Regions from separate parts of the Homo sapiens genome. Here region 1 is linked to region 2. Evidence: promoter capture Hi-C in 16 types of primary human blood cells and fetal thymus (Javierre and others, 2016). All regions are on one chromosome and are shown on one strand. Each heading gives the region's core, a stretch centred on a gene start or on the middle of the fragment in contact. The rest is flanking DNA. Distances are from core to core; before and after follow the strand shown.

Region 1 (3,725 bases), core at 1,020-3,519, 110 kb after region 2:
ATGAAGGTCCAACTCAAATTTCTTCTCTTCCTTAAAGTCTTCCCTGATCCCTTTCTACTGCCTACAATCCTCCCTCCTTCAAATGGCCAGAATTAAATCTTCCTTATTCATTTTCCCATGGTACGTTACTTGGACCTATATTTGCTCTCATTTCGTTCTATACTGTATTTCAATTCAGTATTTACATGTCCAATTCTTCCATGGGGTTATAAGCTCCTTGAAGGCAAGGTTTCAGTTTCAGTTTTCCTTGAAGATCCATCTTCTAACATAATGCCTTGCAAATAGTAATTACTTAAATGTCTTTTAAGTTTAATAAAATAGAATTATATTCTTGGTGTTTAATAAGGCACCAGCATATACTAAGTGCTCACTAAACGTTCATTCCATGAATGAATGGAAAGAAAGGTAATACCAGCAAAACTAAGCTGCCTCAGATCCCAGGACTAGGAGGCATCATGCCTTGAAGACAGAGAAATGGTCTTTTTCTCTTGGGTCTAAGAAGACCTTGCCTGGCTCCTGCGCCCAATGTCAGGCACCCTGGCACCAAAACTGTAGAGATAAGTTTGAAGAAGTTCCAGGGAGGGTCACATAATTGACTTGGGGTGGGGGAGGAAAGGATAAAAAAGGAGCGATTAGGGGCTCAAGTTAGACAGATGGCCTAAGTGACGTCTGAGACTAGACATGATAACCTTCTGCTAACACTGGGAGAGTGTAAACACCCAAGAGGGGAGGAATTGTTTAGCCTGGTCCAGTGGGCTCAAAGTAGGAGAAAGGATGAGACAAGGGACGGGAGATCAAAGCCCTGTGACAGAAAGCCAAGCAAAAGAGACACTGCTCTCCTTGGACTCAGAGAAAACAAGGCCATATACATTTTCACAGATATCTACAAGTGTTATATCCTCATCTTCAGGCATAAAGGAGGCCTACAACAGATGGATTATTGAAACCTAATACAAAGAGCCTATGCTTGGAACAGAAAGCCCTTTTACCATTATGCAAAATGTAGCGCCATACTCAATGTTATTAAACAGTGCCCAAAAAACCCACAGATTCAGACTGTGCTCATCTTCAAGAGAAGATGAGAAAAGAAAAAGTACAGACAGTCAGCAAAGCAGTGAACTGGAATCCCACAGTTTGGTAAAATGCATGAAATTTCTAACCTGTGTTCTCATTTGCTGTTTTCCATTTTACTCTAACAAAAACACCTCTCAAACTGGCATTTGCTGAAAAAATATTCATTTTTTCCTATTTCCCATTCTACTCCAAGTCGGCCTACCTGCCTTCTAGTACACTTGAGTGGGCTTCAATGGTGCCCACAACATTGATAATGAGTGCTGAGAGAGCGATATAGAAGATATGGTGTCCTGCTTCAACAAGCTTCTAATCTACTTGAAGAGAAAAAAGGTAAGTATGTGAAAACAGCAAGAAAATAACTGCAAAGAAACATATGATATATGCAAGAGAAAGGAGGATAAATGAGCTATATAACTGCTAATGATCTGTCAAATCAGGGGAAGATAACTGAACTGATCATTCAGGGAGGGCTTCCCAGCAGAAGTGAAATTTTCTTCCTGAAGAGGAAAAATAGAAATCGATTGATTGAAACCAATTTATGGTTTACAAAAGCTAGAAGGAACCTCAGGGTGTATCTGATCAAAATTGCTCGTCTGACAGATGAACCCCAGGGAGCATAATAATATGCCCAGGTGACAAATCAAAAAAGTGGAAGAACTGGAATTCAAATCAAAGTATTCTGATTTCAAAACCCAGGGCAGATGACAGGAACAAATGCAGAGAAGCAAGAAACAGCAATGTCTATCAGGAAGAAGGTAAGCAGACTGGCATCGTGGGGACAGAGGAACTGTTTCACAGAGTAAGGAGAAATAAGAAGCCCCAGGCTGCTCCCAAATAATCTTAGTTGCTCCATATGGACCCCACTTCTCTCTCTGTCTTCAGGAACATCCACCATACCTTAAATTAGTGGCATGTGCCCTGCAGGTATTTCCCATACCACATGCCCTGCTCTGGGGCCTAATCTCCCTCTAAGGGCCACAATTCTCACTCCCAGAGTCCATACTGGTTCTAAGGGCTCTAGAAGCTCCAAGATATACATATGGCAAAACTAACCAAGAAGTTACTCCACATACGAACTTCTTGTTCTGCTTACAGCCCCACCCTCCTCCCTTGCCCCACCAACACTAGGAAACCAGATGTACAAATGGTTAACAGAGAAAAAAAAAAAATCCCACCCAGACCACTTGAAACGCGGCTAGTCTGGCTGGGCTTCGAGTCCGCTCAGCGACTGCGCCATGACTGCTATTTATAGCTTCTGGGTGCCCAGCCCAGCTTCCAGGTCACTAATTGTGGCCCAGCCCCGAGCCAACCCCCACACCTCCTCCCCTGCCCTGTAACACAGGGAACAAGAAGAAAATCTAGCTTTGTCCAGCCCAGGAAGAACAGCCAGGAGTGAGATCTGAATCCAAGACCCTGTATTATATGCCTTGTGAACAGTATCAAAACTGTCAGAAGGCTCTGCCCTCCTTCCACACATCTTGAAGAGCTGAGTGTCCGTCCTTCCACAGCAGCCTCCTTTCCTGAATTCTCTAAGTTCATCCAGAGTTGAATCCTGAGTTCAGTCTAATCCATCCAAATGCTAGAGAGTGAAAGATAGGTTTTGGCTATCAAGGACACCAGCCAACAGTTAAGTAAAGAGCCTATGTCTTTGAGCAAGCATCTAAGCACCCTTGGATTCATGTGTTTGCCTTTTCCTAGGGTCTATTTGTTAGATTATCTGTCCATTTATTTGTGTTACTACTCTAGTCATCCACAAAAAAGTACCCAGGCAGGAGGCACGCTCAGAACTAAACTTCTAAAAATTCTTTTCTAGCACTTACCAAATACATTTTAAGTTCCACATATTCTTAGTTTCAGACAGAGGACCTGAATAAGATAGTTTTATGAGAGTGCTATAAATAATCCCTTCTGATTCCAAGATGCTATTATTTGAGTATTATTCTATAATACTGTTTTCCCCCTAGAGATACAGATTACTGAGATGGGCAATGACCCTTTTTTGGCATATGAGGCTTTGTGAAGTTATCCTGGGTGGAAAAAAAAAAAGGTTTTTCTAAGGTATAAGAGTTAATGGCAAAAAGACTCAGTGAAGCTTACTCTGTTAGTTCTATACCTGTGCTACAGTGGGGAAACCACCATGGGCCACATTCCCCTGTGTATTCTACATCTGAACCCTTGTTCCCATCCCAATTAAACTTAACCACTGTCAATGACATCTATATTCAGAACAAAGGATTGGGACTAGAGATGAAAGAAGAGTTAAGAGACTTAGAATAAGAGTGAGATATCTCTTTCTTTTTCCAGTGCCCCAGCACCTAAACTATGGTTACCATTCTCAGACAGAACAACAAGCCCCCAACCCTCTACATCCTTGACTGATGCTGCCTAAGACTACACATCTCAATGCCAGTCTTTTCCTTCTCATTTTGGGGTTCATTTGGGCAACTGGATAATATGCCAGGGATTCTGGTTATTGGAGCCAGAACCAGAATGCTGCTGTGCTATCTCATCATCACTCACAAATACCAATTCCCAGCCCCAAATGGTCCCAAATCTTTCCTCCCAAGACCACAAAGGATAAAAAAAAAGTTTCCAAATTAAAAAACTAAAACTGGCAACAAAGGTGCCCCATGGCAGTAACCTTTAAAACT
Region 2 (3,545 bases), core at 786-3,285:
TGGCCAGCAACTGCAGTCTTAGGATGGATAGTGGGTGGGGGACTGGGGAAATTAGGCCCTGGGGTGAAGGGGCAGTAATTCTCAGTCACCAGGAAAGATCCCCGCCCACTGGGTGGCTGCCTCCTTCTCACCACCCTCCCCTCAAGGCTGTGTGTGTGTGTGTGTGTGTGTGTGTGTGTGTGTTTGGGAGGGGGTCATTCCAAGCAGAGATCTCTTTGTTGTGCAAACCCAGGATGTGGAATCCTGGCCCCTGACATGGTTGGGGAGGGAAGGGGAAGCCCTCAAAGACACAGGGAAGGTGCACCAGGACCATGCCAGGCCCCTGACAGGCAAATCTTTCAGTGCCAGGCAGAGTAAAGGGCTGGCCCAGGACAGAGCCTGGTCAGGGGGGCCAGGAGAGGGCTGCACACACCCTAGCCCAGGACCCAAGGACCTTCCCCTGCCCCTGGGGCTGCTCCACGAAGAGCCCTGCTGTAGTCCACCCTCTCCCTAAACCTGCCTGGGATCTGTCCAACGCCATCTCGCCCCTCCCCCTTCTCTCTCTGTGCCACGGACTCGGGCTCAGCAGATCCTTTGGGGCCTCTGGGTAGTTGGGTGACATAGGGGCACTAGAGCGGGTGGTGGTGGAGGGGACAATCCAGCACCTCTAGGAACATGCAGTTTGGAGGGACTTCTGACCCTGGTTCCCATCTCCCGGGGCTGCCTCTGCCTGAGCTGAGGGCCACCTACCTACCCCACCCCAGCTGATGGAAGCGAGGATGTGGGATTCTGAGGTTTGAGGAAGGTGGTGAACCGCTGTGCCTGGGGGCTTGTCCTTTTCAGTCAGTCTGACTGTCTCAGACGTTTTTAGACTGAAAGAGGGACCAAGGGAGTGTCAGGGAGTGACATCTCAGGATGTCAGCAGCACCACAGAGATCCGAGGAGTGGATTTGAGGCTCCATGGTGGCCCTCAGCTTCCCCCGCCCAGATTTTCCACACCTCAGCCTTGGCTCCAACTCCGTGAGGGCCTGCATCTTCCCCAGCATGACCAGGAGCCCAGGAACCGGGACAGGAGGCTGGGGAGGGCCTAGCCCCTGCGGGAGGCCAGACCAACCGTTCACTGAGCAAATGGGAAAACCAAGAGGCCGGGAAATGACTTGCCCAAGGCCATAGAAGTCGCGGGGACAGAGGCGGACTAGAATCCGGGTTTCCACCTCCAGAAGGGTTTCTGTTCTGGGCCACGGCCCCCTTCGCCACCCGCTGGAGCCGGCTCAGCCCGTATTACGACGCAGAATGGAGCCTGGCAGCCCAGAAGCTGCGGGCAGGGCAAGGCAGGGCGGGTGGGGCCGGATGGGAGCCGGATCTCCCCTGGAGCGGCGCACAGCCTCTCCCACCCGTACGGTTGAGATGGCGGTGGCGGTGGCGGCGGCAGGTGCCTGCGTGGCGATCAGGCCGGCCCCCGGGCTGGTGCTGAGAGGCCGCCCCTGCCTCACGCGAGCCGAACGAACAAAACGCTCAGGTCCGGTTTGTGCGAGGGGCTCGTCGCGGGGCGGGAGCGGAGGGCCCGGGGCCTGGCGGTCGCCCTCGGTGATCTCCTGGTCCTGGTCTTCCGCGAGCTCAGTGCTGCACAGCGCCCCGCTAGCCTCCGCCCTCACCTGAACGCATCTGCGGCTGACACGTCGGCGGCCGCGGCGGCCACCGCAGGTGCGCACCTGGCCCGCCCCTCCTTTCCCAGCCACCCTCCGCCCGGCTTTCCTGGCCCCTCCGCCCGGCCCAGCCTAGCTTGGCTTCGTCCCCAGCCCACGCCTTGGAGCTTGTCCCGGAGCCCGGGCTCCGTGTGCTCTTATACTGCCTGTTCAGTCCCCGCCCCCAGACACACACACTCACACCTGTCCAGGCGCCCGTTTGCTCGGGGCAAATATTGACTCATGGAGGCGGAGCGCTCCCCCCTCCCCCGCCCGGGCTCTGAGACCGGAGCTTCTCCGAGGCCTTGGTGGCGGGGGCGGAGGGGAGGGTGCTGGGGACCCTGGGCGCCTCTGGAACAACACCAGATGTCACTTTTCCACCCACCTGCCTCTGGGAGGGAGGAGCCGAGAAGCAGAGGACAGAAGCTCCCGGGCGGGGGTTAGGAGGAACCGAGAGGTGGGTATCCATCCTCGTCTGAGGACTGATTCACAGTGGGAGTCGCTTAGCAGGGTCTGTGGCCCGAAATCCAGTGGTGACCTCGACCCGCCCCAGCCTAGTTCCTGGCCCTCCGCGGCGTGCCTCAGTTCTTCCTCCCCAGCCTCTTGGGCACTCGGAGCTCGGCAAATGCTAAGGGGCTGGCCCTGGGGGTGCTAAGCCTCCGAGCAGGCGCGGCGCGGAAAGGTGAGGGGTGGCCGCCCTGCCCAGTGGACACCTGCTTCGCTGGCCAGGCCTGGCACTCAGTTACTGTGCACCAAGGTGCGCTGGGGCAAAGGCCAGCCAGGCCCCGTCCGGAGCGCCCTCCACTGGCCAGACCCGGTCCAGCGGCCGGCAGCTAGCGGCCAGGTCTCAGTCCAGCTGCAGTGTGGGCGGAGAGGTGCATCCTCCCGGGCCCTAAGTTCCCGCCGCGCCTCTGCAGTCCGCCCGGGCTGCTCCCTGCCATCCTTCCCTCTCAGAGCTCGCGCGCGCGTTCCCCCTCGTCGGGGAAATAAAGTCAAGGTAGATACAGAAAAAAGACTAGATGCTTTTACTGGCGGTGGAGAGGGGGCCAGGCGTGACCCCTAGCGGCATGTCGGAGAGGCTGGGCGCGGGCATTTACGGAAGGTCGGTAGGAAGTGGCACCACCGGGTGGAGTACCTCTGCTTGCTGCGTCGGCAGCAGCGTGTCCGGGGTCAGACTCCTGGAAGACAAAAAGTCCCAGGTAGGCGTGGGGGCGAGGCTTCGGGCAGAGCCTGGCTGCCCCCGTGGCCCCTCTCGCGCGGTCTGCGCGGCCGCTGGTCCCGGCGCCCTTACCTGGGCACGCAGAACGGCGGCAGGGCGATGACGCGTGGCCGCGAGGTGAGTACCACCTCCCCGCGGCTCGCCTCCACCAGGATGTTCTGGATCATGTTCTCCAGCAGCGCCTCCTGCAGGTTGGCGAAGGCCGGGAGCCTGCGAGGGGGCGGGGGCTAGCATGAGGGCGGCCGCAGTGCCCGCGCGCCTCCTCGCTCGCCTGTCCGTGCGGTACATTGTGCCGCGAGCTCTACGGAGATTCCCATTCGACTCCCCTCATCCACTACACTATGGGGCATTCTTGTTTCAATGTTACGGACGTTCCAAGTGTGGCTAAAAGATTCCAAGTTGCCAAATATGCTGCTGGTTTAAGGGGTGGGATTCAAACCCAGGCGATGTAGTAGGCATCTCAGGGCCAAGTTTAGAGAAAGGTAGGGAAGTGATGAGAGGGCGCAGAAGGGACTGGGTGGGGCCTAGGGAATCCCTACAATGACATAAATCATCTGTAGGGCAGCCCCGGCGGGAAGTCCCACCTGCAAGACAGGTGGTCCTTTTCTGGCTCTAGAAGCCCATTTACAAGACTTTGCAGACTATAACAATTCTCCTGGTAA

What was found. The method cuts DNA at HindIII sites, captures the fragments that hold promoters and counts their contacts. A CHiCAGO score of 5 or more calls a contact.
Region 1: a fragment that was not itself captured here is called in contact with the fragment with the promoter of CFAP65-AS1 in region 2 in 3 of 17 cell types (endothelial precursors, M1 macrophages and M0 macrophages); the score reaches 6.9 in endothelial precursors.

The regions. Positions count from the first base shown.
Region 1 is chr2:219,105,705-219,109,429 of GRCh38, forward strand. The region is part of intron 5 of NHEJ1 (non-homologous end joining factor 1); the gene reads right to left. Among named protein-coding and RNA genes, the nearest start is that of IHH, 47 kb to the left of the region's middle. The HindIII fragment of the contact is 1,789 bases long and covers 1,376-3,164 here.
Region 2 is chr2:219,000,180-219,003,724 of GRCh38, forward strand. CFAP65-AS1 (CFAP65 antisense RNA 1) reads left to right here and starts at 2,036. Exons shown (of 3, transcript NR_046086.1): 1 at 2,036-2,121. It overlaps CFAP65 (cilia and flagella associated protein 65), which reads right to left. Exons shown (of 35, transcript NM_194302.4): 34 at 2,956-3,093; 35 at 2,667-2,842. The coding sequence ends at 2,758. It overlaps MIR375 (microRNA 375), which reads right to left and starts at 1,529; the gene lies at 1,466-1,529. RefSeq lists enhancers at 1-365, 1,808-2,102. The HindIII fragment of the contact is 13,795 bases long and covers 1-3,545 here.